Regions from separate parts of the Homo sapiens genome. Here region 2 is linked to region 1. Evidence: promoter capture Hi-C in 16 types of primary human blood cells and fetal thymus (Javierre and others, 2016). All regions are on one chromosome and are shown on one strand. Each heading gives the region's core, a stretch centred on a gene start or on the middle of the fragment in contact. The rest is flanking DNA. Distances are from core to core; before and after follow the strand shown.

Region 1 (5,470 bases), core at 721-3,220:
TTTTTTTTTTGAGACAGAGTTTCACTCTTGTCGCCCAGGCTGGAATGCAGTGGCGTAATCTCGGCTCACCACAACCTCTGCCTCCCGGATTCAAGCTATTCTCCTGCCTCAGTCTGCCAAGTAACTGCGATTACAGGCACCAGCCACCATGCCCGGCTAATTTTTCGTATTTTTAGTAGAGACGGGGTTTCACTATATTGGCCAGGCTGGTCTCGAACTCCTGACCTCGTGATCCACCTGCCTCAGCCTCCCAAAGTGCTGAGATTACAGGCGTGAGCCACCGCACCCAGCCTCTTTTTCTTTCTTTTTATGTATTTTTTTAAATTTGAGAGACAGGGTCTCACCCTGTCACCCAGGCTGGAGTGCAGTGGTGCAAACACAGCTCACTGTAGCCTTGAACTCCTGAGCTCAAGCAATCCTCCCACCTGAGCCTTCTGAGTAGCTGGGACTACAGGCATGCATCACCACGCCCAGCTAATTTATTTTTTTTTTGTATTTTTGTAGAGATGGGGTCTTGCTACGTTGCCCAGGCTAGTCTCAAACTCCTGGCCTCAAGCCATCCTCCCGCCTTGGCCTCCCAAAGTGCTGGGATTATAGGCATGATCCACCGTGCCTGGCCAGCCCTTCCCTTTGCTGAGGGGGACAGCAAAGCTGAGAGCTGGGAAGAGATTTTTCAGAGCCACAGCTCTGAAGCTCCCTAGGCTCCAGTTCTTAACCCTCTGAGTGCAGTCCCAGCTATGACCAGCAGGGTGGGCGAGTGGAATTCGGTGGAATTAGTGGATTTCCAGGTGACTCAGCGCCTCTCAACTTCTCTCTCTTACTTCCTTCTCCATTACTCCCGAATAAATGCTTATCAGCAAACTGGTTTTTACTGAGAGGCCCACAGCTCCCCATTCTCCACAAGTCAAGATCCTCACGTGGTCTCCCTGGGGAAGGGGAGAGTTATGGACCTAGAGAAGAACTTTCAGAGTCCCTCCAAGGGAGACAGCAGAGTGGGGTCCTGTTGGCCTCCACCCTTTTGGGGCACGCAGATAGTCAATATCTTCAGCGTCCCCAAGGCCTGCAAGGGTGGGGCCCCATATCTGGAAGTCCCAGGCCCAGCTGGGAGTTGGTCAAGTCTGGGCTGTGGGGGCAGGGAGTGCTGGGGGATGGTTATCCCCTTTTCTGCCCTCTCTCCTGGGGCAACTCCAAATTTTCAGCCCTCATTGACTTTCCCAGGACTGCTGTCCCCAAGTCTTCACTCATGTCTCTCTGTGACTCCTTCCCATTAGGTACTCGCAGCAACCTGACCCCCCAACTTTTTCAGTTTCCAGCCTGGGGACTTGTGGTGGTTAAGAGCATGAGCTGAGTTCAAATCCCAGTCCTGTCAGTTAACAGCTGTGTGATATTGGGCAAGTCACTCTCTGGGTCTCAGTTTTCTCATCTGTCAAGTAGGGTGATACTAGTTCCCACCCCATTTTGAAAGCTCTCATGTGAAGAGACGACAGAGCAAGCTTGGCTTAGTAAATCCTCTCTGGGAGTGCGAACAACCACCACCACAACCACAATAATGACAACCGCATTGCATAAGAGCCCTGGACTTACACACGACTGTGCCAGTGGAGTCCTCCCGGGGCTCCCGGGGCCAATTCCTCTCTGGCTTGGACTCACATAAACTTGGATCTCACATCTTTCCCCATTTCTGCCCCCGTGGCCACTTGCTTTGGCCCCTGAGTCCTCATACACCTGGCTGGGGCGCTCATGGCCCCAATCAGCCTCGGCCCGACCCCATGGTGCCCCTTCCTAAAGTTCTGCCCGTCTGTCCCGTGACATGCCCCGCCCGCCCCGGCTCATGCCTGCTTGCACCGCCTGCGCCAGGGTGGTGAGCCCGGTCTGGCCAGTGGCGCCGAAGATCGCGATCTTCTTGACGGCCATCGTACGGGATCGTGGGGGTGCAAGGCCTCAGAGTCTCGGCACGCGCGGGAACCCACTGGCTGCTGGGCGGTGCTCTCTGCCCTACTCAAGCCAGGAACAACGGGGCGGAGCTGGCTCGAAGGGCCACGCCTCAGACTCTCCGCCCGCGGCTCAGGTCAAGGGGCGGGGCCTAACGCGGATGGGCGGGGCAGGCGTCAGCTTGCATTCGCTCACCGTCCAGCACCGCCCTCTCTGCGCGCCACTTAGACTGGAAGGCGGGGCCACAGAAGGCCACGCCTCCACATAGCAACAAATAGAGTGGACGGAGCCGAGATAACTTGTCACTCAGCGCCCTGCCTCCGCGCTCCACCTCCCGGAGAGGGGCGGGGCCAGGCGAGCCTCACCCACGGCCTCTCGTAGCTCACGCCCCCTCTCCCGGAGCCTGGAGCGGATCTGGGGCGCACTCTAAGCCCCAGGGCCTCCCAGAACCAGCAAGGGGAGAAAGTTAGGAGGACAGAGTGTGTGTGTGCACTTGGATGTAAGACACTGTGTCACGGCGTACCTATGCACTTATATGACCCTGTGTGACTCAGTGACCCGGAGGGCAAGCAGGACTGTGGGTGACACCTTGTGTCATCCTCTGAGTGTGATCCCGTGTTACAGTGTGACTACACGTGCGTGACACCACGTGTGGCAGGCATTGATTCTGTTCTTTTGTGACCTTGTGGTGACACCGTGGGTGACACTGCGTCAGCCTGTACGATAGGGTGTGGGACGTGTGAGGTGTGCTACATGGAAGCGTGAGACTAATTAGACTGTGACAGTGTGTGACACCACATGTCTCGTGTAAGGATGTGTGACACCGGGACCCCATTCGAGTGTGTGGCTGTGGGTGTCTGTGTTGAGCTGCTCATTGTGACCCCCTGTGACTATGATGTGTGAGGTGCGGCGGTGCAGCATGTGCGGGGCGACTGCTATGAAGGTTCGAGTGTGTAGAGTGTGTGACACTGTGGCTGTGAAGCTGTGCGTGATGTGTGGGCCTATGACACTGTTTGTGACTGCCGGGGAGTGTGCGGCTGTGTGTGACAGGTGCATTTGTGTGTGACGCCGCGTGGGCGGTGGTTACCCTATTGGATTTGTGTGGTGGTGGGTGACACCGTTCCAGTGTGGACGCCGCGTGTGACGGCGTGAGGGTGTGACCCCGTGAGACCCCACAGGAGGGAGTGACGGCGCGCAAGCGCGTGGATGCGGGGGTGAGTTTGTGCGCCGAGGCCCCCGCGAGTATGGCAGCGTGGCGAGCGTGACCCCGTGGGAGTGTGCAGCGCGTGACGCCGCCGTGCCCTCGCGAGTGCAGCCGTGCACCCCACGCCGCGGCCGGGTGTGACTGCGCGTGGGCCTCGGGCGGCGGGGCGCGGGGACCGCGGGCGGGAGGGGGTCCCGGGGGCGCGCTGAGCGCGGCGGCGGCGCGAGAGAGGGAGGCGCGGCGGCGCATGCGGATCTGGCTGAGCCGCGGGCCGGCGGGGCCGAGCTGAGCCGGGCTGGGCCGGGCCGGGCCGGGCCGGGCAGCGGACGCCGACAGGGAGGGCGGTCGGTCGCGGCGAGCAGCGGAGACAGCGACGCTGGCGGCCGCGGGCCCAGGTGAGCTGCTAGGGGGGCCGACAGCCCCTCCCCCAAGTATGTCCCCACCTGGCGAGCATCCCTCCTCCGCGCGCACGGGGCATGGCTGGAGCCCCGGGTCTCCCCGGCTGGAGGGAGGCAAAGGGTCGAGGGCAGGACGAGCCCACAACCCCCCCACCCGGTCTAGCTTCCGCGCCACGCGTGGGTCTTACCCCCAGGCCTTGTCCTTCCCAGGCCCCCTCCTTGGGCGCAGTGTCTGGACCGCAGGGAGAGAGGCGCGGCCTGGGAAGGGTTAAAGCCTCTGATGCCACCGCAGCCCAGCGCCCCACCAGCCTTTGCGGGGGGGGGGGGGTGTTGGGGGGAGGCTCGCAGGACACCCCTTCCCGGCTTCCCTATTACCTGCTCCCTTCCTTCCCATTCAATCGCGTTATGGCCAGAGCTGATCCTCGGCCTGGCCAGAGGGCTAACAGGAGTGCTAAGGGCCTCCCCATCTCTAAGTGTCTTCCACTGAAGAAAACAGCTGTAACCACCGTTTAACAGGGAGGGAAACTGAGGCACAGAAAGGCCAAGTTAAAGATACTCGGTTAAAGATACAGCAAGAATAAAGCGGAACTTGAACTCATTTCTGTCTGACTCCAGAAGAGGCAAATCGATTTGCTGAGATGTGTGAGGAAAAGATGAAGAATAATAGCAAGGAACATGTATCAAGGGCTTGCAGTGTACCAGATACCATGATCCCTGCATTAATAACTTACCTCTTCAAACACCGCTAAGAAACGGGTACGATTATCATTACTTTTTTTTTTTTTTGAGACGGAGTTTCACTCTTGTCACCCAAGTTGGAGTGTAATGGCGCGATCTTGGCTCACTGCAACCTCTGCCTCCCGACTTCAAGCAGTTCTCCTGCCTCAGCCTCCCAAGTAGCTGGGATTACGGGCATGAGCTACCATGCCTGGCTAATTTTGAATTTTTAGTAGACATGGGGTTTCACTATGTTGGTAAGGCTGGTCTCCAACTCTTGACCTCAGGTGACCCACCCACCTCCTTGGCCTCTCAAAGTGCTGGGATTATAGGCGTGAGCCACCGCCTGGCCTACCCTTTTGTGTGTGTGTGACAGAGTTTCATTCTGTCATTCAGGCTGGAGTGCAGTGAGTCAATCTCAGCTCACTGCAACCTCCATCCCCCAGGTTCAAGCGATTCTCCTGCCTCAGCCTCCCAAGTAACTGGGACTACAGACACGTGCCACCACGCCTGGCTAATTTTTGTATTTTTTTTAGTAAAGACCGGGTTTTGCCATGTTGGCCAGGCCGGTCTCGAATTCCTGGCCTCAAGTGATCCACCTACCTTGACCTCCCAAAGTGCTGAGATTATAAGCATGAGCCACCGTGCCGGGCCATCATTACTATTTTGCAGATGAACAAACTAAGGCCCAAAGAGTGGAAGTATTTCAGCCAAGGTCACACAGGTGGTAGGTAGCTGTGTGCTCACTTTCACTTTTCCATGGAAGGAGGGAAGAACAAAAATGGATTTGGGACTGGGCACAGTGGCTCACATGTGTAACCCCAGCACTTTGGGAAGTTGAAGTGGGCAAATAGCTTGAGCCCAGATGTTTGAGACCAGCCTGAGCAACATAGTGAGACCCCCTCTCTACAAAAAATACAAAAATTACCTGGTCATGGTGGAGCTTGCCTCTAGTCCCATCTACTCAGGAGGCTGAGGTGGGAGGATCGCGTGAGCACAAGAGTTGGAGGCTACAGGGAGCTATGATTGTGTCACTGCACTCTAGCCTGGGTGATAGAGCAATACCTTGTCTCAGAAAAAAAAAAAAGATTTCAATGTGTCCCCCTAAGGGACAATTTCCACTCTACTCACTCTACTGACCAAGACTTAGACCCTGCCTTCCTAGAATTCAGTGGGTTGGCAATTGTCTGGGTCTTTTGAGGACATTGATCTCCCAACT
Region 2 (5,051 bases), core at 1,251-3,750, 330 kb before region 1:
ACGAAGGTGGAGCCTTCATGACCTAAACACACCCCAAAAGTCTCACCTCCCAACACTGTTGGATTGGAGATTAAGGTTCCAACACACGAATTGTGGGGGACACATTGAGACCACAGCAGCTATCTATGCTGCAGAGCTCTTGCAGGGTTGACCATGGCCAAGGTTGTGCCACGTCTAATTCAAATTCTCCATCTGCTCAACCCTGGCTCCCCTCTCCCTTCCACAGGCGTCAACCCCTAATAAGTCTCTTGCACCCCAAACTGCATCTTAGTGTCTGCTTCCAGAGAACTCAAACAACAACAGCCCTCAACAGCATATAGACGGTTATGCAAAGCCTAGAAGTTGCATTTACCTTATTAACAGGTTCTTAAAGTATTTCATGCCAACTTCCCAAAAAAATAGACTCTTCTCTGTCCAGTGAGCCTAACATCCTGACCTGGAGAGGCAAGAGCAGGATTTTTTAAAAGCACTTCATAGAGGCCACAGTAGGAAAGGCCAAAGATGCCCAAACTCATCAGTATTCAGAATATTCTAATTAACACACAATGAGGCCAGGTACGGTGGCTCACACCAGTAATCCCAACACTTAGGGAGGCCGAGGTGGGAGGATCGCTTGAGCCCAGGAGTTCAAGACCCACCTGGGCAACATAGCAAGACTCTGTTCTCCACAAAGAGAAGGGGAAAACCCACAACGGCATACCATTTCATACCCAGCAGACTGTCGAAATGTAAGTCTCTCAATATCAGGTTTTAATCCATAGAATAAAATAAATATCCACACTTCTCGGCCGGGTGCAGTGACTCACACCTGTAATCCCAGCACTTTGGGAGGCCAAAGCGGGTGGATCACTTGAGATCAGGAGTTTGAGACCTGCCTGGCCAACATGGTGAAACCCTGTCTGTACTAAAAAAAAAAAAAAAAAAAAAAAATTAGCCAGGTGTGGTGGCACACACCTGTAATCCCAGCTACTCAGGAGGCTGAGGCATGAGAATCACTTGAACCCAGGAGGCAGAGGTTGCAGTGAGCAGAGATCACAACACTACACTCCAGCCTGGGTGACAGAGTAAGACTCCACCTGAAAAATAATAAATAAATAAATAAATCACACTTCTGCATGGATCGAAATAAAAAAATAAATACATGAGGAGAAGGGATGGTTCTATCTTTCAGTAGATTTACAATTTATAAATGTAAAAGGAGAAAGGAATATGAAAAATTACCATTAGTCAAATGTCACAGCAATAACTGTTGCAGACAAGATCCACCAATGGATGCTAAAATTTGTGGGCAAAAGTTTGAGAAGGAAAAAGACTTGTATAGTCTCAAAAAATCTCCTTCAAGATAGTTTTTAATTACCAAGGGGAAAATAGTAACTTTACAGTGGAGATGTGCAGCATACAGCAATTTAAGTGATCAAGGTCAGCATCACCAGCAATAAGATACACTGACATCAGGTGCCTCCTGATATCATGCACTGAGAAGGACACAACATCATTTCTGTGGCGTTCTTGGCAAAAACTCATAACTTTAGTCCAGTCATGAGAAAATGTCAGACAAGCCCAAATTGAGGAATATCCTATAAACTAACTGATCAGTACCATTCAAAAGTGTCAAAGTCAGTTGGGCATGGTGGCTCACACCTATAATCCCAAAGCTTTGAGAGGTTGAGGCAGGAGGATTGCTTGAGGCCAATAATTCAAGATCAGCATGTGCAACACAGTGAGACCCCATCCTGACAAAAAAAATTAGCCGGGCACCATGGCATGTGGCTGTAGTCCTAGCTACTCAAGAGGCTGAGGCAGGAGGATCCTCTGAGTCCAGGAGTTGAAGGTTGCAGTGAGCTATGATCGCACCACTGCACTCCAGCCTGGGCGACAGAAAGAGACCCTACCTCTTAAAAAAGCAAAGTGTCAAAGTCATGAAACACAAGCAAATACAGAGGAAATGTTCCTGTCTAGAAGAGACACAACAACTGAACACAATATGGGAGTCTGGAACAGAAAAAAGGAAAAAAAAAGGACATCAATAGAAAAAGTGTTAACATTCAAATAAGATTGGTAGTTTAGTTGATACTGTGATACCAATGTTAATTTCCTAGTTTTGATCATTGTGCTATGCTAATAACAATAGGGGGAGCAGGATGAGAGATATGTGGGACCTCTCTGTACTATCTGCACTTTTCTGCAAGTCTAAAATTATCTAGCATTACAGCTTCCACCTCACTCTCTGCGTTAACTTGCTCACCATCTGGCCCTCCCCACAGTCCCCATCATGTGGCCTAGCTTCCCCTAGAGCAAGTGGACCCAGAGGAGTGTGAGTGAGCCCCCTTGGAAGGGCATTCTCCAGTTCCTTTAAACCCTTCTGATGACTGAACCCCAGGCCAGTGCCTTCGAACCAGAACCATGTGGATAAGCTGCTCTCAAATACTTGACCCACAAAAAGTGTGTGAGACAATAAATGTTTACTGCTTTTACCTCCCAGATTTTCTTTTTGAAATTCAGAAAGTTGTTGTTGCACATAATGACGACTAGATGGCACCAGAATTCCAAGGATAGAAGCAGGCTGCCAGCATCATGAACTCAATTGCCTCTGAGTTTGTTTACAAATTTATTGCAATCCCAATACAGATATCATCAAGGGTTTTGTGTGTGTGTTTGTGTGTGTGTGTGTGTGTGTGTTTTCTTTTTTTGCCCCAGAGCTAGAAAGAAGCAGTAGCAGCCGTGGCTGCCACCAACTTAGGCAGTAGCTCTACCAAATACTTAAAACGATATAAGTGGCCAGGCGTGGTAGCTCATGCCTATAATCCCAGCACTTTGGGAGGCTGAGGCGGGTGGATCACCTGAGGTCAGGAGTTTGAGACCATCCTGGACAACATGATGAAACCCCATCTCTACTAAAAATACAAAAATTAACTGGGCATGGTGGTGGGCACCTGTAATCCCTGCTACTCGAGAGGCTGAGGCAGGAGAATCCCTTGAACCCGGGAGGCAGAGGTTGCAGTGAGCTGAGTTTGCACCATTGCACTCCAGCCTGGGTGACAAGAACAAAACTCCGTATCAGAAAAATTAAAAATAATAAAAATAATACAATAAAAATAAAACAATATGTGCCCTTGCCATGGTTGGGGCTAAAAAAAAAAAAGTAAATAAAAACAATATTTTAAAATGTGTTACTGATGCATAAATAAGCAGACAGATCAAAAGAAGGTTAGAAAATCCAAAGACAGAAGCAATTGCTGATGGAGATTTATATGATGATATAGTAATTTCTAATTCAGGAAGGGACTTTAGAAAAGGTTTTAATTTAGTAGTGTAGAAACAACTAGATGACCACGTGAAAACAAAGAAGCTTGAATGCATTTCCCACCCCATATACCAGATTAAATCCTAAACATATCAAAGATCTAAATGAAAAAACACAGCCTCACAGATAATAAAACACTGGTGAGTTCCCTCATTACCGGGGAGGGTGTAAATTTTCCAAACTATTACTCAAGATCCAGAAGCCATAAAAGAGAATTTTGTTAAATGACCAAACAAAAAAAAAACAAAAACCTTTTGCGTGGCCACAAAATAAGCCATACACAACCAAAAACTACAGATGACAAAATAAGAAAAATATTTACCACTTATATCACAGAAGAGAAAGAGTTAAAATCCCTAAAATATAAAGTGTCTAAAAATTAAGGGAAAAAAAACAAGAAACCTATTGAAAGCGGGCAAGATACATAAACAGAGAGTTCACGTTAAAAAATGCAAATGCCACCTAAATTTATAAAAATAGCCAGACACAGTGGCTCATCCCTGTAATCCCAGTACTTTCGAAGGGAAGGTGAGGGGATTGATTGATCCCAGGAGTTTAAGACCAGCCTGAGCAAGATGACAAGACCTTGTCTCTAAATAAAATAAAATAAATTAGCTGAGTGTGGTGGCACACACCTGTGATCCCAGCTACTCGGGATGCTGAGGTGGGAGGATGGGAGGACTGCTGGAGCCCAGGAGTTCAAGGCTGCAGTGAGCTATGATTGCACCACTGCACTCCAGCCTGTGTGACCGAGTAAGACCCTGTCTCAAAAAATAAAAAATAAAATATCACACCTGTAATCCCAGAATTTTGAGAGGCTGAGGCAAGCAGATCACCTGAGGTCAGGAGTTCAAGACCAGCCTGGCCAACATGGCATGGTGCATGCCATGTTGCAGCCAGGCAACATGGTGCAGCCAGGCATGGTGGCATGCACCTGTAATCCCAGCTACTCAGGAGGCTGAGGCAGGAGAATCGCTTGAGCCTGGGAGACGAAGGTGGCAATGAGCCAGCCGAGATTGTGCCACTCCACTCCAGCCTGACTGGCAAAGCAAGAGCCTGTCTCAAAAAATAAAAAATAAACTAAAGCTCAGCCTCACTCATAATAAAAGAAACACAATTAAAACTGCCCTGAGATCCTATTTCTCACCTAACAGATTAGCAAAAATCCAAATGTTGGACAGCCCTCTTGTTGGCAACGCTGTGGGGAAACAGGGACTCTTCCATTTTACTGATGGAATATAAAAAGATAAAACCTCCATGGAGGAGAATTTGGCAATATCTAGTGAATTTGCCCTTTGACTCAGCAATCCTACTTCTAGGAATTAGGTCCAAAGACACAGACAGAAATAGGAAACTTCATATGAACGTGCCTCTTCACTGGAGCCCTACGCATGATAGCAAAAAACTGGAAACTATTGCAATAGCCATGAAGAGGGTGCTGCTTAATTCAACTATGCTATATCCACAAATACAGAGCACTGTACAGCTGTGAAAATAAGATATATTAAGATTACATATATATGTGATGTGTGTGTATGTACAAGTGTGTACACACGTGTTTTTTTGTTTTGTTTTTTTGACTATTTGTTTGTTTTGTTTTGTTTTGAGACAGTCTTGCTCTGCCGCCCAGGCTGGAGTGCAATGGCACGATCTCAGCTCACTGTAACTTGCACCTCCCAGGATACAAGCCATTCTCCTGCCTCAACCTCCCTAGTAGCTGGGACTACAGGCACGTACCATGACGCCC

What was found. The method cuts DNA at HindIII sites, captures the fragments that hold promoters and counts their contacts. A CHiCAGO score of 5 or more calls a contact.
Region 2: a contact is called between a fragment that was not itself captured here and the fragment with the promoter of BLVRB in region 1, in 2 of 17 cell types (total B cells and naive B cells). The highest score is 6.1, in total B cells.

The regions. Positions count from the first base shown.
Region 1 is chr19:40,463,775-40,469,244 of GRCh38, forward strand. BLVRB (biliverdin reductase B) reads right to left here and starts at 1,971. Exons shown (of 5, transcript NM_000713.3): 1 at 1,836-1,971. The coding sequence starts at 1,914. It overlaps SPTBN4 (spectrin beta, non-erythrocytic 4), which reads left to right and starts at 3,227. Exons shown (of 36, transcript NM_020971.3): 1 at 3,227-3,531. RefSeq lists an enhancer at 1,045-1,164 and a silencer at 2,186-2,385. The HindIII fragment of the contact is 19,600 bases long and covers 1,492-5,470 here.
Region 2 is chr19:40,137,456-40,142,506 of GRCh38, forward strand. No RefSeq gene overlaps it. Among named protein-coding and RNA genes, the nearest start is that of ZNF780A, 49 kb to the left of the region's middle. The HindIII fragment of the contact is 1,694 bases long and covers 1,654-3,347 here.